Linked DNA regions of Homo sapiens: all the other regions are linked to region 3. Evidence: promoter capture Hi-C in human tissues and cell types (Jung and others, 2019). All regions are on one chromosome and are shown on one strand. The core of a region is centred on a gene start or on the middle of the fragment in contact, and the rest is flanking DNA. Distances in the headings are between cores, read along the strand shown.

What was found. Contacts are between HindIII fragments. The study calls those that stand out against the background at their distance.
Region 1: a fragment that was not itself captured here is called in contact with the fragment with the promoter of ADAMTS1 in region 3 in 2 of the 25 tissues and cell types used here (H1 embryonic stem cells and dorsolateral prefrontal cortex).
Region 2: a contact is called between a fragment that was not itself captured here and the fragment with the promoter of ADAMTS1 in region 3, in 1 of the 25 tissues and cell types used here (hippocampus).
Region 4: a fragment that was not itself captured here is called in contact with the fragment with the promoter of ADAMTS1 in region 3 in 1 of the 25 tissues and cell types used here (dorsolateral prefrontal cortex).
Region 5: a contact is called between a fragment that was not itself captured here and the fragment with the promoter of ADAMTS1 in region 3, in 5 of the 25 tissues and cell types used here (IMR-90 fibroblasts, dorsolateral prefrontal cortex, mesendoderm cells and 2 more).
Region 6: a fragment that was not itself captured here is called in contact with the fragment with the promoter of ADAMTS1 in region 3 in 3 of the 25 tissues and cell types used here (dorsolateral prefrontal cortex, mesenchymal stem cells and spleen).
Region 7: a fragment that was not itself captured here is called in contact with the fragment with the promoter of ADAMTS1 in region 3 in 2 of the 25 tissues and cell types used here (dorsolateral prefrontal cortex and lymphoblastoid cells).

The regions. Positions count from the first base shown.
Region 1 is chr21:28,294,203-28,297,713 of GRCh38, reverse strand. No RefSeq gene overlaps it. Among named protein-coding and RNA genes, the nearest start is that of LINC01695, 67 kb to the right of the region's middle. The HindIII fragment of the contact is 7,138 bases long and covers 1-3,511 here.
Region 2 is chr21:28,453,063-28,456,823 of GRCh38, reverse strand. No RefSeq gene overlaps it. Among named protein-coding and RNA genes, the nearest start is that of LINC00161, 84 kb to the left of the region's middle. The HindIII fragment of the contact is 5,820 bases long and covers 1-3,761 here.
Region 3 is chr21:26,843,933-26,847,301 of GRCh38, reverse strand. It overlaps ADAMTS1 (ADAM metallopeptidase with thrombospondin type 1 motif 1), which reads left to right and starts at 1,893. Exons shown (of 9, transcript NM_006988.5): 1 at 1,893-3,077. The coding sequence starts at 2,348. RefSeq lists enhancers at 509-1,108, 1,109-1,709. The HindIII fragment of the contact is 5,494 bases long and covers 883-3,369 here.
Region 4 is chr21:28,210,859-28,214,632 of GRCh38, reverse strand. It overlaps LINC01695 (long intergenic non-protein coding RNA 1695), which reads left to right. Exons shown (of 6, transcript NR_126012.1): 3 at 2,285-2,393. Among named protein-coding and RNA genes, the nearest start is that of LINC01695, 16 kb to the left of the region's middle. The HindIII fragment of the contact is 3,011 bases long and covers 109-3,119 here.
Region 5 is chr21:28,576,655-28,580,025 of GRCh38, reverse strand. It overlaps a transcript of HEMK2 not described here. Among named protein-coding and RNA genes, the nearest start is that of LINC00161, 39 kb to the right of the region's middle. The HindIII fragment of the contact is 4,643 bases long and covers 1-3,371 here.
Region 6 is chr21:28,429,194-28,433,044 of GRCh38, reverse strand. No RefSeq gene overlaps it. Among named protein-coding and RNA genes, the nearest start is that of LINC00161, 110 kb to the left of the region's middle. The HindIII fragment of the contact is 3,705 bases long and covers 142-3,846 here.
Region 7 is chr21:28,614,357-28,618,137 of GRCh38, reverse strand. It overlaps a transcript of HEMK2 not described here. Among named protein-coding and RNA genes, the nearest start is that of LINC00161, 77 kb to the right of the region's middle. The HindIII fragment of the contact is 4,494 bases long and covers 15-3,781 here.

The DNA of each region.
Region 1 (3,511 bases), core at 123-2,622, 1.5 Mb before region 3:
AGATAATGGACAGCTATTCTAACAGCAGCACAGTATCTATGAGTATGAGTTCCTGTTGGAATTGGTGATAAAATAATTGGCTAGATACAGCATCTGCCTTCCAGCTTTCCAGTGTGCAAGATTGACTAATAAAGGCTGATTTCAAGGTAATGTGGAGGGAAATTGATACCATAGTTATTAATGATTTAATCAATTCTTCATTCATACTGTATTTTGTCATTCATTTAGTCAACTTAAGATGTACCTTCATTGTGTCAGAAACTGAATTCCAAAAAAGAGTGAATAAGACATATATGGCCCCTACTCTCTTAATGTTTATAGGCTATTTCTCTAATATGCTATAAATAATAAACAAATAAATTGGAAAGGGCACTAGTAAACAAGAAAATAATGTGCTGTTAAAAAGTAGAGAGTCTACTTAGAGAGGTTATCCATAGTAAGTCAGAAAGTAAAGGAAGAACAAGACTCAATCTTTCAAGGTCAAGGAATCCTTTGGAAAATGCTTTAGTTAACTTTAGACCTCAAGGATAAGTAAGACATGGGAAATGCAGCAGGAGTGAATTCCAGACAGTGAAAATAGCGTATGTAAAGCATGTTTGAAAGAAAGGAAAGCATGATTCTTTTTGACCAGAGAAGTGGAGCTGGGAGAAATGTAGTTAGAGAAAGACAAGCAAGGTCAGATGATGAAGTGTCCTGTGATATTGTCTGCTTATTTAATGTCAATAATAATCTAGAATTTATGATATAAATTGAGCACAAGTATTCAGAATTTCTAAATTGTCAACTACTAGGGTTTCAGAGTTTTACATGGAAGATCAGTGGTAAGTACATATTTTCATATAGGATTTATTCCGCAGTATTAAATCAGTAAAAAAAGAGTGGAAGTTGAAAATTAGGATGTTATAGCTGCACAAGGTAGAATAGACTCTGGGAGGTGATTGGGTTGGAGGCTCAGATGAGTGTGAGGACTATGAAGTGTATAAAGTGGGATGTTATGAGCGATTGGGGCAGAAAAGAGTTGAAGGGGTTCCCAGAAAGAAACCTAGTCCTCTGTAAGAATTATTTTATACATGAGGATACTGCTTGAGAGAGAGAGGAAGAGAGAGAGAGAGATAAAGAGAGAGAGAGATCTTTTCCTTCTTATAAATCTCCGCAGTCCTATTAGATTAGGACCCCACACTTATGACCTAAATAAACTTCCATTGCCTTCTAAAGACAGTGTCTCTTTGTACAGTCATACTGGGTTTGGGCTTCAACACATTAATTAGAGTGGGGCACAATTCAGTCGATAGCAGAAGGCTACATATGTGACCAGTGAAGGTAACTCTTGGGATTCTATATGTGCTCATTATATGTTTATCCCTGTCACAGCCTGATGACATGCTTTATTTTTAGAGTTTTGAAAGGCATACATATTTTGAGTCAGTCCCTGCCTTTCATCACGTGTAAGAGGAACACCACACTTTTAGCCATAGAATATGAAGTTTTGGTTTATTTGCTAAAAACAATAATTGAAATTTCACACATCTATCCCTTAGCATTCAGTCTAAAAAAAAGCACAAGAAATATTATAAGTAGAAGAAATTTTTTATGGAAATTAAAGATTACAATCATGTGGAAAGAACTGGGCATGTGAAGATCGGGAACAGGAAAGTGATATTCAGCAAAAGTCACTAACCGTGACAGCCTGTTCTGGATGGCCAGGTCAGAGATTGCAGAAAAGTTCCAGAAGATGTGCATCCTTGGCCGCTGAATTGGGACTTAAATAAGGCAGTGCTTGAAGAGAGGTCTGTTGAAGCTGTCACCTTGCTAGAGCTTGGTGGTTGGCTTGGGGCTGCTGTTGGTTGATGAAAACAGTAGAAAGATGAGCTGAAACTAGAGCCCAGTGAACACCCTGGGACTTCCTCTCACCCTGGCCTCCCACCACAGTCTTCCAAAATAAATGCCCTCTTCACTCAAGAAAGCTTCTCTTTTATCTAACTCAAATCCAGACCACGTACGGAAGGGGATTCTGGGATAAATTCAGTTGATCCTTGAGTAAGGTGAGGTTAGCAGCACCTCCTCACAGTCAAAAACCCACACATAACTTTCGACTCCCCTAAAACTTAACTAATAGCCTCCTGTTGACTGGAAGCCTTACCAATAACATAGGCAATTACCACATATTTTGTATGTTACATATATTTACTATTCATTAATTGGAAGTGATTATCCCAAAGATCTTTGTCCTCTTTGCCTTCATATTGAGTAGGCTGAGAAGAAGGAGAAGAGTAAGGGTTGGTCTTACAGAAATGGAGAACATACTAATAACTTGGCAAGGTCAAGCAGGATGAGACTGAACATAGATTGCTAGATTTGGCAATTTGGAAGCCATTGGAGACCTTTGAAAGAGTTATTTTATTAGAGTGGTGGTGAGCAGAAAATCTGATAAGAAATGAATTAGAAGTGAGAAAATAAAAGTGCATAAAATACATATGCATATAAACAAATATATGTACAAAATATTTAGAGTTATCAGTTCATGAGCTTACCACTTTACTGGCAGTAACTAGTGTCAGGAGCTATGAAGGATTTGAAATTTTAACCAATCATAAGTTAGCTTGCCACAGTTGCCTGGATGCTGGAAGAAGGCAGAGTTTACTAGTCTTTACTAGACTTTAGTTACTAGTCACTAGCCAGTAGGCAGAATTAAGTCCAGGTTTATATTGTTTTTTTCTTGCTGCCCATTCCCCAATCCCATGGGGTTGCTGTGGAGTTGGTCTATGTGCTTCTTCCTTTGGCTGGTCTTAATTTGTATCCTAGACCTCTGATTAATGCAATTGTGAGTACAATTATTTTCAGTGAGTTCTGTAAGTCTTTCTAGTGAAATTTTGAACCCAAGGTGGCTGTGGTAACCTCTGAATTTGTTACCAACTGGTCTGAAATAAGGGCGGTCCTGGGGACATTCAAAGACAGCTGGTACCTGAAGTGAGGATAGTCTTGTGACTGTGTTTTCAGATTGTGCAGTTTCCCTAAATCTGGGAAACTCAACTTTTTTAGGTATGGTTAAAAGCGTTTGTGTTTGTTTGATATGATAATGACAAAAAGTATGACTCCCACTTTTTTCTTTACTGACTTTTGTTCCAAATTTATTTACAGTCATTCAGAAAGCCTATTATATTCCAAGAGTCATACAACTCATCATATGGGACAAACCAAGATATCAATTATCATTCAATATTTAAGATAAATGACAATTTGACTTTTAATTTTTTCCCTATATAACTGTGATCCATTTTTAAGGTGACCATGGCTCGAGGAGGCTTCACAAAGCACAGAAAAAACTGAGAGAAGATAAATACATGTAATAAGGTGATTTTATTTGATGTTGAGAAACAAGTTAGTCTTCTTATCTTAAAAGTTTGGTTTATAGTCATGAGTACTCATGCCATAAAAATTTCAAAACCAAGAATTTGTTTCCATAATGTTTTTGTTGTCCTGATAACAGGAAGTTGACACTTCAGTTTGGCTC
Region 2 (3,761 bases), core at 697-3,196, 1.6 Mb before region 3:
CAAAGGATGAGTAGGAAGAAATGACTACATCGTGGCAGGGTAGTTGACCCCAAATATTAGGGGTAGAAAAGGTAGCTGTACCACACTTGGGGCAGGGAGGAACATGTTTGGCACCACTGACCTACTAGTGTGTTGCTTAGTACTCCCCTTCCCTGTTGTGATAGGATGGTAATAAACAAAAATTTTGCAACTGTGACCCAAGAATTGCATGGTGGCTAAGACCTCAGACCCCTCAAAGATGAGTATTTGGGTCCCCCCAACAGGTAGACAACCTAGACCAAAAGAGGTGCAAGCTGAGAATGTATGGAATATAGAATGGGGAGTAAAGGTGGGCACTGTTGAGTATCATTTGCAGCCCTGAGACTAGCCCTAGTGGAGAGGACCAAAATTCCTCTAACAAATTGCATTCGAAAATGAGACCAACTAGGATCCCAAAGAGGATGTTTCTAGATTGAGAGAGCTTATTTACAAGAATCAAGTAGAACCAAGCATCGTATATTAGAGTGAACTGTAGTGGATACTATTGTGTGTCACCCAGATTAATGCCTTCAGAGTCAAGGTGCTCGTTCTCCAACCCTGAATATGTTGGCTGCTGTTGGATCCTAGCTGTGTTCCCCTGTAGAAATTGCCCTTGATGGAAGAACACTCCCTCAAGTGTCCAGTGTCTAGTCTGTTGGGTATATAAACACCTGGCCCCCTTTGTCTCAGTTTGGGACATCTTTAGAGGGTCACCACAGATTCAGAGTTCTACAGACTCTCTGTGGGATGGGCTGGAGCCTTTGATTGAACTCTACTACATTTCAACTTTTCCTTTGGAAAAGTCTTACTTCTTCACTCCCTTACAAGCAATATTCCTGAGAAGACATGCTGAGAAACCTCCTGTGCACAGATCTCAGTGTCTGTATGCAGAAAATCTGATCAATGACAACATACTTATTTGTTTCCCTGTGGGACAGTTTGGGCAACCTAAATTAGTAACGGCATACCACTTTTTTGCTTCGTATTTACTTAGTTTGGAATGAAAGTGAGAGATTTCGGGTAATAGACAATATAGAGATTATGTAACTCAATATTTTTCTATAATAGATAATCAAATAAAGGAAGGTTAAGTGAATCTTCTCCCTTTGTAAAAGTTATAAAAGAGCAATGAGAGGATGCCCTCCCTTTCTGAGGCTCTCATGTGCACAGAAACGTAAGAAGGAAATCTCATTCCAACTTGGGCATAGATTACTGTATCTTTAGCATATAAAGGGCAAAATTGGAAATGAGAGAATGAAAGTGAAAGCGTGAAAATCAGCTTCTTCCTCGATTCCCTTGCTATTGGATTTTATTCCAGGCTGGCTCTCCCAGTGCTGTGAAACTAATGAGCTGTGTTCTCATTCTGACTCAGTGTAGGCCACACCATTTGCAAGCCTGTTTAGAATGAGAGTGACGAGAGAAAGAATTACAAGTATTCACCTATTTTGTGTTCTTGCAAATTAAGAAATGTTGGATAAAACCCTCGTTTTACTCAATTCTGGGCAATTTCAAATTGAAGCATATTTTTGCCATCATAAAGAGCAGGCTTGAAGTCCTAATACTGGACTAAATTTATTTATGGACTAGGCATTCTCTCACTATGGCAATGTGGTGAAGTGGCCAGCAGCCCAGGACTACTCACTTTTTCCCTGCTTCCAGGAAGTAGCACAATAATTGTTAACAGACATGGCTGTAGAAAGCTTTTCTTTTTTTAAAATTTCTGTGACTATAATGAATTGTATGCCAAACATATACATATGTATAACTAAAAATGTGAGAAGCATGTATTATTCCAGTCACATTTAATTGCATCAACATGGAATTCCTATTGGCTTTTGCAGAAACAGCTAATGCGCCATGTGTGGAAGAATCCAGATGTTTGGATTCTATGCTCTTCCAATCCATTATATGAACATCCATTTATTACAATGTGTTGCATTGTGTGGAATGGAGAACTGCATCACTAATAAGGAAGTAAAGTTGAAGGCTAATTATACCGTTGCTATTTTCAAATGAGGATTTTTCTGCTGAAAGTGTTATTTTCAACATGAAATGGTGAATGATTTCTGCCTTGTGTTTTCATAGAGCCCTTCTGCTTGTTATTACTTACATGGCCATATGTCTCTTTCAGCAACTTCATTCAGCAACTCCAATCACAAACTCCAATCACATGTATACACACACATGCACACACACACACACACAAACACACACAAAAGCACAAACACATGCACTCATCCCTAAAATATAGGAGAACACAGCAAAGGCTTTAGCAGATATAAATGCCCAGGGCATAGAGTGATTGACAACTCATTCCCTTTAAGAAGAATGGGAACAATTTTCTAATGGGGTTTTGAGATGAGATGATATGAGAGGTTGAAAGATGGGATTTTGACAGTTGCAGTTTGGGGAGAGGATAATTTTAAGTGGACAGAATTTAATAAATAAAAGACAGATGGTGAAGAAAAGGCAACATGTTTTAAACATTTGCTGTATTCCCTTTTAAATATATAATTTCTTCTTTTATGACAAAGCAGGGATGGAACATTTCAACAAATCAGACTGAACACATTTAACGATACCAAGCTGTAAGGCCCAGTGCCCTTCAGTGGGAGGTCACTATTTTATTTACCTCAACAACATTAAAACACCCACATCTCAAGTCCCCACCTGATCTGACATTTAGTCTGATAAATAGTTAAGAGAATCAGGTCCGTGGGTATGATCATAGAATGACATGAGCCTATGGATCTCTGAAGGGTCCATAGAGAGCACAGGGCTTAGAAATGTTTCTATCAGGAAAGGCCTTGGAAAAGGAGCAGTTCTCAGATAGTGGTTGCTCTTCTTGATCTCTTTGGAGCAAAAAATCAGAAAAGCAATATGTACTTTAGATTCCAGGGCTCTTGGCATTGTTAATGTTTGAGCAGAAAGCAAGATAGATTGGACTTACAGATGAACGGTATGGATCCTTTTTGATCCACAACTATCAGTACTTGATTTAATTTGCCTCCTTCTCTTTTTACCATTTTAATCACTCCTAGGACTCCAACTTTTACCTCAAAGTAAAAGTCATCTAAACTTACGTCCTTGGCCATCTCTCCCTGCAAAGCTCCCATTCTCCTTTTCCAGCTACCTGTTCTACCTCAAACTGAGCAGTGCAAATCTTGGCTCCCCATTTTACAGGTTATTTTTTTTATATTTTTGGATGCCTCCCAAACCCCACTTTCCACCTTCTGTTGACCCATCTCGGGGCAGGAATTTGCTACTTGTTTTCCATAGTTAAAGCTTTGGCCTCGTATTCAACAATTCTCTTGAACTTTAAAAATAAGTTGGTTGCATCCAACCTCTTTCAGTTCTACCTTTGAAATGAATCATGAATCCATTCATTCTTTTTTATTCCAATCACTGATGGCATAGTCTGGAAATTCAGTTCTTCCTACTCTGCAGCAATAGGTTCTTAAATGGTTCTTGTGAATCTGTTCTTTCATTCCTTGTGTGTATCCATTTCCCAAAATACAAAATATGATGATGAAGGTAACAATAACTAAATGAGGAAGAGGGGGTACAACTACCTACTTAATTGTTATGAACCTTAATCAAGATTAGTTTTGTAAAGCATGTAGCATAGTGCCTGGAATATAATACATCCTGAATAAATATTGGCTATTACGTTTCTCTTTACCTTAGAAACACTGCATGTGTATATGCCAGTTCTCAAACTCACCTAATTCTTCCCCACATCT
Region 3 (3,369 bases), core at 644-3,143:
AGAAGGAGGTAGGCTGGACAATGCTTGACAATGCAGAAAGGAATCACACACTCAGGTGTGCGGATGTCAATGTTGAGTTTGAAGGAGAAATGCAACGGCGGGAGGGGGGGAGAGACAGCGAGGGCTGCAAAGGAGAGACTCAGTGAAAAGAGGTAGGCAGAAACACTATCAGAATGTTAATCGAGCGCTGTCAAAATATATCTAAGGCCTTGGTTGATTATTCAACGTTCAACGATGAGGGTGATTTTAGGAAACCAAAATTAAATCTACGAAACCACCCACTCCTAAATGTGTAGGGACTAGAGGTCGTTACTAAGCCCTTCAGAAGTAAGCTGAGTTGCTTCTCTCTGCCATTCTTGCTCATTTGATTTTTCCTGATGAGTGGAAAGCAATGTTTTTGTTTTTGTTTTTCAAGTAAGCAATCTCGCTAGGAAAAAAGAAGTTGGAAAGCATCCGGAAAAGAAAGCTTGTAAGAGGGACGTGTGGGAGAACTAGAAGGGACGCTTCTGGCTGGGGCCAACTGAAGTGGGGAAGATCTGGGGAGGAGCGAGGAAAGGACCCAGATCTACTTGGAGCCAACCAAGAGACCGGACGGGAGTGGGGCGGAAAGGCGGAGACCAGTTCGAGCACTAACGCGGGGGCGCGCGAGTGTGAGGGTTGCGGGTCCGCCCGGGGCTAGGGCGGTCGCTCTCGCCATTGTCCCCGCGGCTTTCCGCCTGTGAAACACGTCCTTCCTCTGGGTCCTTGAGCCCCTCCCACTTTTTGGAGAGAAGAGCCACTCAGTTTTTTTTCCTAAGGACCTGTTGGTGGACCTCTCCTCGCTTTCGTAACGCGGATATAGCCTTTTCCCTTCCTGGTAGGAAGAGGAAGGAGGGGTCCGGGAAGGAAGCCGATTTCCTTCTTTCCCCCTCTGCACGCTTGCTAGCCCCAGCGATCGCTGCTGGCCCCCGGGTAGGAAAGTGGGGTTCCTGGCCGTTTCTGCGACGCTGGCCTAGGGCTTGCAGCTGCTGTTGAGTGAAAGCACGCAGACTGGCGGGAGCCGATCATTTCTCGAATGAAGAAGAAAAAGCGCAATTCCCTCCTTATGCTCTAGGGAATTGAGCCGCGTCCCAGATCACCCATTCCAGAAATGTGAAACCGGGCCCTCACAAAGTCGTCTCTGGTGAAGAGGTGGCGTGCGGGGTGGGGGTTGGTGGAGGGTGAAGGCATAAGCAAACATATTTTAAAATCCAGATCGTAGGAAGTGTCACCTGGCCCCTCACCCAGGCATGCTTTCTGGGGGAAGCGCAGGGCCAAGCTTTCCCTAGAAAAGCTGGGGCGAAGAGAGAGCAGGCGGCGGCTAAGGAGCTCCTGGCAGGCTGGGAAGGTGGAGAAGTGGGGTGAGGTATTTTTCTAGAAAGTGTAGCCCTAGCTCATCTCCTAGATTGGGGAAGAGGGAACTGAGGGAGGAGGGAAGGAGACCCAGGGCAGCTCCAGGATAGGGAAATGTTGAAGAAGGGACTGCGTTCTCCAACCGAACCCTCCCTCCTGGGAACCGCAGCCCAGCGCGGTAACTGAGTTACCGCAACCGGGCGGTGGGGAGGAAGGGTGGTCCAGGAAACCGGCGAGGGAGAAAAGCGGTGGAAGGGAGAGTCTTCTCCCTGGAGCGGCCCCAGCAGTACAAAGTGCTGGTCACAGCGCCCCTTCCGCCCCTAGATTGACGAGCAGTGGCGTGGAGCCAGCGCGGAGGCTGCCCCCTCCCCCTCCCGAGCCCGCAGCGCGGAGCGCGGTTTAGCACCAACGGAGCCGGGGGCGGCGTCTTTGGGATGGAAAAGGGCCAAAGGGGAGGAGTGGGGTGGGGGTGGGGGTTTCACTGGTCCACTATAAAAGGACCGCTCGGCTGCCCGGTTCTTGCACTCGCTGGAAAGCGGCTCCGAGCCAGGGGCTATTGCAAAGCCAGGGTGCGCTACCGGACGGAGAGGGGAGAGCCCTGAGCAGAGTGAGCAACATCGCAGCCAAGGCGGAGGCCGAAGAGGGGCGCCAGGCACCAATCTCCGCGTTGCCTCAGCCCCGGAGGCGCCCCAGAGCGCTTCTTGTCCCAGCAGAGCCACTCTGCCTGCGCCTGCCTCTCAGTGTCTCCAACTTTGCGCTGGAAGAAAAACTTCCCGCGCGCCGGCAGAACTGCAGCGCCTCCTTTTAGTGACTCCGGGAGCTTCGGCTGTAGCCGGCTCTGCGCGCCCTTCCAACGAATAATAGAAATTGTTAATTTTAACAATCCAGAGCAGGCCAACGAGGCTTTGCTCTCCCGACCCGAACTAAAGGTCCCTCGCTCCGTGCGCTGCTACGAGCGGTGTCTCCTGGGGCTCCAATGCAGCGAGCTGTGCCCGAGGGGTTCGGAAGGCGCAAGCTGGGCAGCGACATGGGGAACGCGGAGCGGGCTCCGGGGTCTCGGAGCTTTGGGCCAGTACCCACGCTGCTGCTGCTCGCCGCGGCGCTACTGGCCGTGTCGGACGCACTCGGGCGCCCCTCCGAGGAGGACGAGGAGCTAGTGGTGCCGGAGCTGGAGCGCGCCCCGGGACACGGGACCACGCGCCTCCGCCTGCACGCCTTTGACCAGCAGCTGGATCTGGAGCTGCGGCCCGACAGCAGCTTTTTGGCGCCCGGCTTCACGCTCCAGAACGTGGGGCGCAAATCCGGGTCCGAGACGCCGCTTCCGGAAACCGACCTGGCGCACTGCTTCTACTCCGGCACCGTGAATGGCGATCCCAGCTCGGCTGCCGCCCTCAGCCTCTGCGAGGGCGTGCGCGGCGCCTTCTACCTGCTGGGGGAGGCGTATTTCATCCAGCCGCTGCCCGCCGCCAGCGAGCGCCTCGCCACCGCCGCCCCAGGGGAGAAGCCGCCGGCACCACTACAGTTCCACCTCCTGCGGCGGAATCGGCAGGGCGACGTCGGCGGCACGTGCGGGGTCGTGGACGACGAGCCCCGGCCGACTGGGAAAGCGGAGACCGAAGACGAGGACGAAGGGACTGAGGGCGAGGACGAAGGGGCTCAGTGGTCGCCGCAGGACCCGGCACTGCAAGGCGTAGGACAGCCCACAGGTAGAAGAATTGCTCTCGTTTGTCTGTCCATTCATCCTCCTCTCCTCACTTTATCTATCCCACGCGACTTCAGGGTAGACTCCTGCTGGCAGGCAGGATCATAAGTCCGCGGACAGAACGGAGGCCTGGAGTGGAGGAATGTGGTTTGAGGTTTGGATTGGTGAACTCAGCTAGAAAACATACTTGCATTTGCCCGAATAATGAATAACCAAGAAAAAAACTGACAAACGATTTTCTGCAAACTAAAGCAAAGCATTTAGGCCGGGGAGGGAGAGTTTGTAACCTGACTCCT
Region 4 (3,774 bases), core at 365-2,864, 1.4 Mb before region 3:
GGGAAAAACATAATTCAGGATGTTAAAAAATAGAAATACAAACAACACATCAGGAAAAAATTGTATAAAAATATATATGTCATAATTTTTTAAATGGTTGCTAAAATTATGCCTACAGATTTAGCTCCAAGCACTCTGGCAGCAAAAGAAGAAATGAGAAAATATATTACTTAAAAAATTTGTATCATCTAGGAGAAGCATACAACTTCTTTTAGTTGTTATTAGAGTGGCAACCATACCTAAGCCCTATTGTTTGTGTACATGGGTTCTTAATGTTTTCTCAATGAATGCTTTTGATTTGCAGGCTGCAGCCAGTTGAACTCGTGCTTTCTAGGGCTTTAGTCCCCTCTTCTATGAAGATTGCTCCAGACCAAATGTGCACCCCTCTAGTTACTGTGGAACACAACACATGAGCAATGGCCACCAGGTTTCATTTGAGATCACGTGCCATTGAAACTCTTTAGTGATACGAGAACCAAGACTGCTTTTTGTCTTCTTGCTTCCTATTTCTGTCCTATTTCTTCTGGAATTCTAGATAATTATGAGCTACGATTTGCCCTATCCTTCTAGATTACAATGTGATGAATTCCTGCTGATTAATTTATATCTCAAATGCATGGCATTGTGAATTGGTACTATTTCTGTTCCTTTGAAGGAACACCCAATATTTGAAATCACTCTAGAGCTAGAAAAGACAGCAAAGTAAAACAATCTGGTCCTGGAATATAGTAACTTTTCCCAGGGAACAGTAAGAGGGAAATATGCACCAAAGAAAAATTCTATTTTTTTTACTTTCATTATTATATACCTGAAGAAGATATTCTTATTTACAGGTGGGTAATTAACTTATAGCAATTCTAGGACATCAGGAAGCTCATCCTGCAAATTCCCTCGATTCAAAAATAATTTGAGTCAGTAGCTGAGGTTTCAATTCTTTCATTTAATTGGTTGAATCTCATTGGCTTTTTTTTCCAATCACTAACACGTTAGTGTAAATATGTTGAACAGATTCTCTCAAGCCAGAGAATTTGTTCAGAAAATCTCTCTTATATAATGAAGGACACACGACAAATTAAATAGATTTGGATGGGAAGAAGTTGGAAAAAGTGCGTTTAGAATTGATTTAATGCATAACAGCTGAACCCTTAGCTATAGGACAGCTCAGCCAGGGTTCTGATTAGTATCTGATTCAATGTCAGATGCATGAATGATGTAAACTTCTGTACTTACTTCATATCTTTTGAAAGTCCTGACTTGTAGAAAGATTTGGAAATTTTGAATCATCCCAAAGCATTTCTAAATGCTCATATACAAAACTATTATTTTTTGTATTTTTAAATAGCATAGAAGTCAAATGAAAAAATAAATGATAGAGAATATTACCTTAAGTGTGCCATATTATTGACCTTCTTACATGAAAAGTCATTTTCTAAAAAAATACGATACAAATCTTTTCTTTAAAACAACAGGAAACTTTAAATTATTTAAATAATCATACCTACTCTAAAATAACTAAGTGACTTACTCAAGCTTTCTTGTTAGGGATGTCTAACAACTCTAGTGAGTTACATATAGTAAGCTGTCTTTTATGAAGTCAAAATAAGAAAGATATTTCTATAATTCTTCTTTGTTTTCTTTATAACAACCTATATTATAAAAAACTTTATCTTTTTCTTTTTCTTTTTTTTTTCTGAGACAGAGTTTTGCTCTTGTTGCCTAGACTGGAGTGCAATGGTGCGATCATGGCTTACTGCAACCTCCGCCTCTCAGGTTCAAGAGATTCTCCTGCCTCAGCCTCCCGAGTAGCTGGGATTACAGGCGCCTGCCACCATGCCCAGCTAATTTTTGTATTCTTAGTAGAGATGGGGTTTCACCATGTTGGCCAGGCTGGTCTTGAACTCTTGACCTCGTGATCTGCCCGCCTCAGCCTCCCAAAGTGCTGGGATTATAGGCGTGAGCCACTGAGCCGGGCTGCAAAACCTTTATCTTTAACAGCACATGGATGGCTATTGACAGTTCATAAACAAACAAAAAATAAACATTTCACCTAAAGATTTGATCATCTGTAGGAGGCCTATGTAGTATAGTCATAGAACATTATGACATTATATGAGCATTATAAATATAAATTAAACACAGTCTTTAATATGATTAATATTGTCATCTGGCTTTTGTTAATAATTTTGATAACCACTGAATGGAAACAAAATGAGATTTCAAAAGTGCAAATAATGTGCAATTTTTAGAGAAGGTAAAAAACACAATTTCTTTTTTCCTTTAGTAGGCCCACAGCCAAGCCATTGAGAGACAAGTCCATGGGAGACAAATTAGCTCATGCAGCTGAGATGTCCTGGAGATTTTCCACAGCACCACTTGGCCAGTGCCTAGACAAGGTAATTTACCGTATCTCTAAATGTCCTACTCCCAAGAGCACATTCATCTTGCCTCCCCTTGAAGCAGATCCCTTGAAGAGTTTCATGTTTATGAACATGGAGTAGTATCGTTTGGCCAGCAAAATTAGGAAATGAATTGTGTTTTCAGTAAACTCATCTATTACCTTACTTCAGAGTGATTAAACTCATAGTGCTTGATGAAAATAACCAACTTAAAATGAGGAATGAGCATAAAATATGGTTATGCCCTCAGAGTTCTACCTGTGACAAGAAATGATAATCAAATCAGCTGGGCATTATCAAGCAAAATGATGGTAAGTAAAATAGATATAATTTTAGAATCATCATAAAATAATGAAAGAGAATACTTTTATTTAGGTTTGTTTTGATACCAACAGGAATCTTTTTTCAAAGTCTGAATCTCATTAGAAAAGGCATGAAAATACACTGAAAGGCATTTATAGATTTAAAAAGATGTTAGAGGGCTTGAGGAACTTATAGACAAACATTATTATTTTGAAAAGAAAATTGGCCAAAACCTTTTGAAATGCTAACCTCAAAGAGAGAAATGAGTAATGTTAGTTAAGAGTTTTGATTCTAATCAACCTAAATGCCCATCAATGATAGACTAAATAAAAAAAAGTGCTACATATATATACCATGGAATACCATGTAGCCATAAAAGTAATGAGATGGTGTCCTTTGCAGGGACATAGATGGAGCTGGAGGTCATTATCATTAGCAAACTAATGCAGGAACAGAAAACCAAATACCACATGTTCTCATTTATAAGTGGGAGCTAAATCCTAAGAACACATGGACACATAGATGGGAGCAACACACACTGGGTCCTATCAGAAGGTGGAGGGTAGGAGGAGGGAGAGAGGATCAAGAAAAATAACTGTTGGTACTAGGCTTAGTACCAACAGTTGAAATAATCTGTTCAACAACCCCCCGTGACACAAGTTTACATACATAACAAGTTTACGTATATAACCAACCTGCACATGTACCCATGAACTCGAATTAAAGTTAAAAAGGAATTTTGATTCTTAAGAAAGTGGGAGAAAAGTTAACGAGATTAAAATATTGATGAAATACTTTGAAAAGATATTATATAAATATGTATTGTTTTTCTGTGTCTAAACTTCTTAAAACTAGAAATAGTTTAATATTAGAAATTTCCTAAAATATTAATGATACACCACAACACTCTGTTGAGTATTTTTTTTTCCAATTTATACCCAGTTTAAAGAAATCATGGTTTCTACTTTGTACTTAGAAAACTACCTCTTTTTATCTAATCCATTATATGTAGTCAAACTAAGTGTGTCAAATGCACATTTATAGTGCATTTGCACTATAGTCAAATGCACATTTG
Region 5 (3,371 bases), core at 386-2,885, 1.7 Mb before region 3:
AGATTCAGAATTGTGATCTGACATCTGTTTGCACCAGAAAACTCACTGCCTCTCTTCTTTTATGCTTTGTCAGTCAAATTGATGCTTGAAATTTTTAGTCATGATGTAAGCTGCTTACACGATGAGGAGAACTTGGGAATTAAGCTTTTTCACAGAAAGTTCAGTCACCAGAGTGAGCAGTCAAACTTTGAATATATAGGAAAGCAAAACTGGGGCCCTTTGCATGCCCCAAGGGTAATATTTTTCAACATTGCTGAGCAAGGAATTGGATCCAGGCTAATGCTCTTGGTGTTAAATCAGACTAACAAATATGCACAATTTTGAATAGGTAAAAATTGCCACACTGCCTTGACATGGGTCATTCTTATTCCATTCTATTTGTATTATGATATGTTTACTTAGCTCTCTTAAATATATATTATTTAAATTTACAAATTAATAAAAACATTAAAAAATAGACATCTACATTTAAGTATACTTTTATTTTCTTTTTCTAAGACAGCTATTTTAAATCATGGTTTATTTAAAGCATGGTTGCTGAAGTATAACTTCCAGAAAGGTAAAATAATGACTCTCATGAAAATACAAACATGCATTAAAGGTCTTATTAAATTCCTTAATGAGGAAACTAATAAGAGGTTCAAACCTGTTCAAAGAAGAATTTGAAGAATATACAATTATATATCTTAAATACATATGCACGTGTATATATAAACACATACACACAAGAATGCTGAAATAAATTTGCTACTGTATGATTCAAAATTGGTTAATAGTCTATAAGGCAATAAAATATAATGTAATGACATATGTTTAGGGTCATCTACAGTGTGGAAATGAATATTTCTACCAACAGAATTCATTTGCATTGATATGGTCAAAAATCACTTGCATTACCATCCATTTTCTACAACTCGATTTCTACCCCTACCGAGTTCACAAATAGCCTAATTGTTACAAATACAATCAAAAGTACGTTATTCAATAGAATCTGATAACCTCTGGAGTCCATAACTCCACCAAAAGAACATTTTTTTCCCATTTCCAACTCTTAGACAATTTTCCTGACATTACATTTAATTCCATATCTGAATTTGGGGAGAGGTAAATCTGTTTTTTAGGTGCCATTCTGGAAGCAAGTGTGAGCCGTTGCACATACTTACAAATTTATTAGTTATGTGGCTAAAATTAAGTCCCAATATTACGTGTGCTGCCTTGACATCTAGTAAAACTGGGAGGGCCTTGAATGGCTTAGCCACAAATTTCCCTCCTCACTTTCCTCCCATGGATAAGGTCCCCTATCAAACAACCCTTTTTATCAAGGAAACCAGGGACAGTTTCTGCTTATCCCTGAGTAGAAGATTTCAGTTCCCTGCCAGTCCGTATGATAATTCAAATGAGCCAATGTGATCCTCCCATGGGATCCAGGGGGACACCTCAACCTCTTTAAACTACTAAACCTGCCTCCCACACCTCCTGATTGTTCACTCTGTTCCCCAGTGAAACCCCGCTGTGGCCCTGTGTGGTTCATCTGTTTCCACTGGTCTGTGATTATATGCAACTAACAAGTACTGTCAATATCGTCTGTCCTGTTTCAGGTGTTGGATGTTCAACCATCCCCATCACCTGAGGGTGGAAATCCTTCCTTCACCAGAAGGGTGAATAGGAGGTGATTACAACCTTGTTATGGAGAGCTGAATCAGAGCAGAGCAGGAGAAGGGAAAATTATCTTTCTATCTGAGGGCAAAAAGATTTAGGTTCAGCAGAAAGGGGTAGTGAGATTTATGTTATTGGCTGAAAGCATGCTTTAGATAGAAAAAAATTTATATGTAAATATTGGAAACAAAGGGCGGAGTTAAGCTTTTCCAGGAGCCTGAAAGATTTTTCAAAATGGCTGGAGTGTATGCAGAGTGCAAAACAGTGATTGTTTAGAGATAGGATATAGCAATGACAGCTGAGTTTAGGAGTTTAGACTTGATCTTAAATTAATGGAAACAATGGAAGGGGTGTGATACAATCAGATTTGTTTTGAAAAAATTGTTTTAGCTTTAACAGAGAGTAAAGGTTGTTTTGACTGGAGTTTGGGAGCCAATTAAAAGATCATTAAAACAATCGATATAAATGTGGTGTCTTCTTCAAAAGTAAGGGTACTAGAAATAGAAATAAATGGACTGACTTGGGTAATATTGAGGAAGTAGGATTTAGAGGGTTTAATGATGAATTGGATGTGGGTAGGGGTGTCAGATTTATCAAATAAAACTACATGATGTACAGTTACATTTGAATTTCAGATAAATCACTTTTTTAAAAAATATAAGGTCAATATTTAGGATAGATACTAAAAATTATTTATTGCTTAGCTGAAATTCAAATGTAGCTGGGAAACCTGCATTTTATCTGGCAACCCTAGATATGTTGTTAAGTAAAGTAAATTGTTGAGGATGGGTCTTGGGTTTTGGAAATAAAAAGTTGTTAGGTGGGCAAAACAAGGGTGTTTCATTTCCCAGAATATCAATGCTTATTGCAAATCTATTAATTTCTTATGGATAAAGAAAACTTATATCAAAATACATCTTCCTGAAGGTAATTTTATGTTTTTGTCTTTTTCATGAAACATGGTATATTTTGAAATTTCTTTATTTCAGGGAGAAAAGAATGGGAACTGTGAGGAAAAGAATGACATGAACAATGGGAAGACCAAGGTCCCAGCACAAGTAGTAGATGCTGAGGAAAGAAGAAGTATGTTGTGGAGTAAGTGAGTGGGCCTGAGTTGAGAAGATCCTGGCCTTGGATTTTAAAACTGTCAGGTGACTATGGTTGTGCTGGTCTCTGCTTTTCATTATGGATATATGTGAGCTTTATTTTCTATTAAGGTAAGTGGCTCCAGTCAACACTGTGCCAGGGTTTCTTAATTTTCAAAGGTGAACAAATGAGATTCTGGACATTAAATCTCAACATCTTAAGGTAATGGTTCACAGAAATTAATTTGGGAGGAATCATAGACCAAAAAGCTAGGGCTGGGCGCAGTGGCTCACGCCTGTAATCCCAGCACTTTGGGAAGCTGAGGCGGGTGGATCACTTGAGGTCAGGAGTTCGAGACCAGCCTGGCTAACATGGTGAAACCCTATCTTTACTAAAAATATGAAAATTAGCCAGGTATGGTGGCAGGCGCCTCCCATCCCAGCTACTCGAGAGGTGGAGACAGGGGAATTGCTTGAACCCGGGAGGTGGAGGTTGCAGTGAACCGAGATTGCACCATTGTACTCCAGCCTGGGTGACACGAGTGGGACTCCATCTCAAAAAACAAAACAAAACAAACCCAGAAAGGTAAAAGCTAAACCTACAGAGCTTCTGGGAAAAAACATTAGAGT
Region 6 (3,851 bases), core at 745-3,244, 1.6 Mb before region 3:
TCCCAAAGATGTATCATTCATGATAACTTTTACAGGTTTTCTTCTTGTGTCAGAGATTTTAATTGCACCCATTATCCATATTTCCCATATTGCTTAGTAACAGAATCCTGATGTTATTCCAGGCAACAATGTATTCATTTCCTTGCCTTTCCTGCTATGTGAGGCTATGTCACTAAGTTCTGTTCAGTGAAATGTAAGCAAAAATTGAATCTGAGAAATAGCAAATGGCTTGGCTCATGTTATCTTTATTGCAGTGGTTAGAAATCATGACTCACTTTTTTTCCTAATGACTGTTTTTCCTAATGACTTTGAGCTGCATAAGAATAAAGCCATGTCTTAGAATGATGTTCAATAATTAGTTGCTTGGCCGGGCGCGGTGGCTCACGCCTGTAATCCCAGCACTTTGGGAGGCCGAGGCGGGCGGATCACGAGGTCAGGAGATCGAGACCATCCCGGCTAAAACGGTGAAACCCCGTCTCTACTAAAAATACAAAAAATTAGCCGGGCGTAGTGGCGGGCGCCTGTAGTCCCAGCTACTTGGGAGGCTGAGGCAGGAGAATGGCGTGAACCTGGGAGGCGGAGCTTGCAGTGAGCCGAGATCCCGTCACTGCACTCCAGCCTGGGCGACAGAGCGAGACTCCGTCTCAAAAAAAAATAAATAAAAAAAATAATTAGTTGCTCACTGCCTAACCAATAAATGTTAGTGTACTGGGCAGGGAAGGGAAAGAGAAGAATTAGGTTGATGTAATTCATTTATTATCTGGAAGCTCAATAGGGAATGTGACATGAATGAATTTAAGCAAGTCTGGGCATATTGGGAGGCAATTCTCCATGTATGTCTTGCAAATAAAGGCATTGGTGATGATCACTCTGTCTTTTCGAGGATGTTGGTAGAGCAAACAGCTTTTGAAGATAGAGATGATTTCTCTCTCTGAAGGAAAAGGTGTTTGTCTACTTTGCAGTCTAATAAATACAATGTCTTCATCTGGGGCAAACGTTGGGTTTCTTTTCTGCACCTCTATTAAAAACTGGGGTTTTGCCAGCAAGGGGTTGCTCATCTATGATGCAAACCCATTGTGTGTGCTGTATCCACCTGGGAAAATATGAAGATAAGGATGCTCATTGTGCCTTCAGTAATAAAGTCTTTTCTCTTTGATCTAGGAGTCCAGTGTCTTCAGCCCATCACGTTGAAGCTGTGGGGGCTAATATGTTAGCTTGCAAGTGGCTTAATATCTCATAGTCTTCATTCTTGATAAAGCTTCCCTAGTTTCTCATGGGAGAAGGGCCTACTGGGATTATGGAGTCAGAGAAAGTGATGCACAGAGTTAGTCATTGGAAGCTGCACACATTCTAAATCCAGCAATCACTGTCCTGAGTGAACATGAAGTTCTGCAATTACTCAGTGATCACAAAGGTCCTCAAAGCTAACACTACTCACGAAGATGGTGTGAGTTACATTGGCTGACAAGCTCCAGCCATGGACGCAATTCCTTCTAGAAGCAAAATTTATCTCTAGACTCCTCCTGTATTTTAATTTAGCCACTTTTTTAGGGCCTACAATTTTAGATCTCCACAGGGCTCTTGAAACTTCTTGAACCTCATCAGTAACATGTCCATTAGTGGCATGACCCAAGAGTTCTAGAACATCTATTCAGCAAGTGTGTATCTGGTAAGTGAATATTCCTTCTATGTGTTCCCTTTTGCATCAAACTACACACTGTCATTCCTCCTTTATCTCCAAAAGCTTGAAAATTCCTCACTTGTATCTCATTCTTTCTCTCTTAGAAAACTGATCACCTCTGATGAATTAGAACGGAATGACCAAGCTTTGGGAGAGGCAAAAGAATTTCGGTGTTAAAGACTCAGAGTTTAAGAAGCAACAAAAAGATTATACAGATGTGAATATGTGACCTTCCTCCACCAGGGCATGTTGCCTTGGAGTAAGATAATTTAAGCACACACTTCATAGCCTGAGAACAATTTTGGAAGTTTTTGCTTTATGGATATTTACATAAAGCAAATATGGATATTTACCTAAAGGCTGGACCAAGGCCTAATTCCTCTAGAGCCCCTTGATCATGAACACCATTCCTGTCATGATTCTTAAGGTCTTCCTGCTGTTCTCATTAGCACCATTTTCAATTTGCTGCGCCGTGGCCTTTTTCAGTGGTACAACTGCTGTATTTGCTACAGGCTTTAAAATAATGAGAGTTTTTCTCCTTGAGAAACATTACATCTTACCCCACCTGTCTTAAGAAATTTAGCCCAGGTTTTTCTTTACCGGATGGGAGGACATTTAGGTAGTACCACATAGAGCCACACTGAATGCCAGGGTGGGTACCCAATGTCCTATGGGTCGAATACAGCTCACTGTTTTTGTATGGCTCACACACCAGAGACAGTTTTTACCTTTGAATCTCATTAGGTGACACATTATCCACCCTATAAAGAATTCAGCTTTTCTCATTGGTAGACCTATATTACAAAAAAAGTACTCACTTATCATTGTATTTTGAATTTCATCAACGAAAACATTCTGAGAATTTGTTTTCTCACTTATTTTAAAAGTATATAGTATAATTTGTTTCTTGTCCCTAGACACTAAAAATTTTTTCTGTCTGTCTTTTTACAGAAAAAATTTGCCTGCTCTGCTCAGGACCATCACTCTGCCTGCCTGGGGCGGAACTGGATTTTTTCCCCTGGATTCTTTTCTTGTTGGGAGTGAGTGCAAAGCCTTCCATCTATCCCTGGCTACAAGCTGAAAGGCTGGGCACAGTTAAAAGTTTCTACTTTGCTTCAGGGTGTAAATCTGGGTCCATACAGGTGAGAAATTTTATTCTGCTTCTCTGAACAAAATAGTCACCTGAAAATATTTCCCTCATCAGCCATTTTCACTTTCTCCCTATGGTATCATAGGTAAGTTGTTGAAGATTCTCGGGCTGAATTCAGTTCTCTCACTTGCACGATGTCTAGGTGGTATAAATTCTCTAAGAGTCCTTGAATGTATGTATTAGCTACTCTGTTCTAAGAAAGGATAGAGTTGAAATAACATAATCCAGCAGGTTGAACTACAATATCACTATTTAAAATACGATTATTGGGCCGGGTGTTGTGGCTCACGCCTGTAATCCCAGCACTTTGGGAGGCCGAGGCAGGTGGGTCATGAAGTCAGGAGTTCAAGACCAGCCTGGCCAACATAGTGAAACCCTGTCTCTACTAAAAATACAAAAATTAGCTGGGCATGGTGGCACACGCCTGTAGTCTCAGCTACTCAGGAGGCTGAGGGAGGAGAATCGCTTGAACCCAGGAGGCAGAGGTTGTAGTGAGCCGAGATTGCGCCACTGCACTCCAGGCTAGGCAACAGAGCGAGACTCCGTCTCAAAAAAAGATATGATTACCAAAATATAAAGTTATTGTAATATATAATTTTCAAAGCCCCCACTTTCACTTTTTCTTTCCTTCAGGACCATTTTTTTTAGGTAATATAGTGATACAGAAGAACCTATAAACACTGTGGGTAGAAGAAGGTGAATTTGGCATGTTTTTATTAAAACTACTCTAACATTTACTTAAACATTTTTAAAAAGCCCAAACATTGGAGCCTGGAAGATGAAGAGTTGTATATGTTATTCTTTCCAGGAAGTTAAATAATTATAAAGACACTAAAAATAGCAGCTGTTTTAAAAGAATAGCTTGCTCATAATTTGTCCTAAATTTCCTGGAATTAAGAATTATGATATGGTTTCATCCTGCTGTGACTGCAGTAAGAGAACAAACGAAGCTCCTTTTACGTCAAGGAAAGTGTTTTTGAGGGAAATGAAGACTTTTGTTTCTCCTGCTTCTCTGTTGAC
Region 7 (3,781 bases), core at 1,012-3,511, 1.8 Mb before region 3:
GCTCTTGATTCTGTTTGTCTTGTTATTCTTTTAATCTTTAAAACAGCCAAGGCTGGGCGTGGTGGCTCACACCTGTAACCTCAGCCCTTTGGGAGTTTGAGGTAAGAGGATCACTTGTGCCCAGGGGTTTGAGACCAGCCTGGGCAACATAGTGAAACTCCATCTTTACAAACAGTACAAAAATTAGCCAGGCTTGATGGCATATGCCTGTAGTCCCAGCTACTCAGGAGGGTATGGTGGGAGGCCACCTGAGCCTAGGAAGTCGAGGCTGCAGTAAGCCATGATCATGCCACTGCACTCCAGCCTGGGTGACGGGAATGAGACTCTGTCTTAAAAAAAAAAAAAAAGGCAGTCAAGAATACCAAGTACCATAATATTAGAGATGAATCAAGCATTCTTATTTTGCTGTTTCCAGGAATAGCTTACAATTTTAATTTATGACCTTTAGAAATATTATTTTGTCCAGGCACTGAACACAAAGTGCCATATCATGAGCTGCTAAGGTAGGAAGAATCAGCAGATTGTTTGGATTGTGAAGAGACAACTTTTATATGCATCTCTCCATGCGGCAATGGCCAATGCTTTGTAGAGCTGAGAGAACTCATAGTATTGTGACTAGAGGTGGCAGTCTGAGAGCTTACAGCAATGGTTGGCTGATTAGCAGTAAGTACTTATGAGGTGTGAAAGGGAAGCAGTGAGAGATTTGATACTGACACCATTAAGGGACTTCAGTATGAAATCAGCACAAAATAACATAATCTTAGCATGTCATGCAAGGTCTTTCATTATTTGGTCCTTGTTTGCATCTCCAGTCTCATTTTGCACTGTTCTCCCTGCCTCCCTCTACTCCAGCCCTGCCAGATGTGCTTCAGTTTCTCAATGCTAAACTGCTTCCCATCTTAGGGCCTTGGCATTGGCTGTGCCTCTGTGTGGAAGGTTCTTCTAGATCTTCATATACATGTAACCTTCCTCAGCAAGGCTATTCCAGACCACCCAATTCAAATTAGCCACCAAGTCGCTCTCTGACCTATTGCCTTGTTGTACTTCACTGTCTGGCTTCTATGTCTAAGTCTTATTTTTCTTGTTTATTTATTTATTTTTTTCCCTTACCAACTAATTGTCTGTGGCCAGCTCACTGGAGCCTAAGCTCTATCATAGCAAGACTTTATATACTTTGTATCACTGTGCCTCAGTGCCTTAAAAAGTGCTTGGTACCTGATGGTTTCTTATTTAATATTGGTGAAGTAACTGAGCAAGAATGACAATTATTTGATTGCCTGCCACGATGGTTAGATCCAATCCTGAGTGATGTGTTGAGTTTTTTGAGTTGGAGAGAGAGAAACTGGAATCCATCCACAAATGAGAAACTAGAATAGCAAAGGGTATACAAATGGTACTTGTAGGGTAGGAACTGGCAATATTCAATCTGGAAAATATTTAAATGACTAGGAAATAGAAAAACAAATTACAAGAACACAGTATCCAACTTGTTAAAAGAAGAATTTTCTGATAATTTTGAGCTTTCCTACAATGGCGTAGGCTAGCATTTCAGCACAGGAATTTTTCATGTGTCAGGGAAGTTTTAGAGAGAATTTTGCAGGTAATAGAATTTAAAAAAACTACAGTTTCTTAAAAATCTAATATTTTATTAGAATAAGACTTTACATAAAAATTCATAACTTTTCAAACAAGACTAATTTTTAAAAATTATCTTTAGCTCATACATTTTAGGCACGGTTCATTCTCAATACTGCTGGATATAAGTCCATATTTCCAATAATTTTTTTATTGTTTCAATGGCAAGTCTTGTCATATCTGATGAAAATTGCCATTGTTTTTCAAAATCTCATGATGTGATTAGCGAAGAACCTCTCCCCAAAGCAGAAGAGTTAGTTCTACATTTCCTTGTTGCTTATATTATTAGCACTATCTTCAGCCTTGAAAAATCTTTTAAAGCTACTTTTTGAGGATTAGAGAAATTATGTCTAGACAATTTGATCTGCAAGCTGAAAGTGATCAGTGACTGAAGCTTCCACTGTCAACCCCTGTTTATTACAAAATGTTCCCTCTGGAGACCCCATGTACTAAACATGATGAGTGGCACTTGATATATGGACCTAGTGAAGATGCCATTATTTGTACTTTAAATATTAGTTATGATTATTTTTTTCTTCTTGTTATAAAAATCAGCATAACTTTTGACTTGTTTTCATACCTCAGTGGGCTATCTTAGACTTCCTGTGATTTATCTACCCCACTCTGGAGATCACTGCACTAGTTCCTGTATAACATCTAGCATTAAAAATATGAAAGCAATCGTTAAGCCTTTCCATTTTGAACCTAATTATAATGCATTAACAAATAAAATTCTAGCCTTGTGGAAGGCAGACAAACATGGCATTCCATACCATATGGACTGTAGTTCTAGTGATTTCACTTTGGGTTTTCCAGTACAAGATTTAAACAAGGGACCAAAGAAAAGTGCCCCTCCTCCTGGTTTTGAAATAACCAGAAGGGAAATAAAATCTACACTTTTTATTTTTATTTTTTTGGCAAGAATTTATTGTAATGAGCAGAATCTGAAAGCTCAGTTCATTCCTGACTTTTTGGTCCTCATGCTGGTGTGCTTATGACTCCAGCTCTGTGACTCAACATTCCTCTCTGCTGGTCCTGTGGTCTAATCTCATTATCATTCTCGGAGGTGGGGGTTTGTGGGGAAGAGAGAGAGAGAGAGAGACAGCGACAGAGACAGAGAGACAGAGAGAGGAAAAGAAGAAGGAAGAGAAGGAAGAGGAGGAGGGGGAAAAGGGGAAGGAGGGAGGAAAGGAAATGGGAAAGAGAGAGACGACCCTAGTAAAACCCCGAAGAATGTATTTCTTTCTTATTCCTTTCTTCCTTCCAGCATCTTACTCCCTGCGTCTTCCTGCTTCATTCAGGGTCATGAACTACAGATCTTTCTAAGAATCATTTGAATGCAGTGGGAAATTAAATTCTTCCCTTATTTGCAGACAAATAAGAGTCAGTTTTATTAATAAATGAGGAAAGGGAGAAGCCACCCATATCACCCTTGTATCTCACCATGCTGGGACATTCCTACTTTGCAGTTAAGAAATTCTGTCCCTGTAGACAAGAAGAGGCATTCTGAACCATGCATTCCAGAGAAACGTTCAGAGATTAGGAAGGGGTTATGGAATTTTATATAGAGTGGGAAAAGGCCTCACTGAAAAAGCAATGCTTACAAGATTGAAAAATATCACTCAATGCTCTGAAGGGTTTTGAAACTCAAAAAGAGAACCACTTTTGTGCTGTCCTTAGAGGCTGCTGTGTTAGCGAATTCTCTAGGTGAGCCTGTGCCATATGCCATGTGGAGGCGTTTGTGCTACTTCCGGTAACACACTTCTTGGATAGGATTTGAATCAGATGTCATCTATTAAATTCCATATTCTAGTGGTTCATATGTCAGCAAAATGTCACTGTAATCTAATTTATATAAGGACTTTTTCTTCCAAAAAATGTCATTTAGTTTTACAAATTGCCTACCATGTTTTTCTTAATAGCCGTAGAGCCCAAGAAAATGGCGAAGTCTCAAGTTGAAATCTTGGCTTTGGCTTACACTATTTGATCATATTTTTCACTCTGAAAACTTCTGGAAAGCTTTTTATTTCAAAGTTTTGTTAAATTGCAAAATGTCTGATGGACAGGTTTCAATATGTTTTTTTTTTAATGTATGAAAACCAGTAGAGTGAATTATCAAAAGTAATCCTAACTAACATTATGCTCC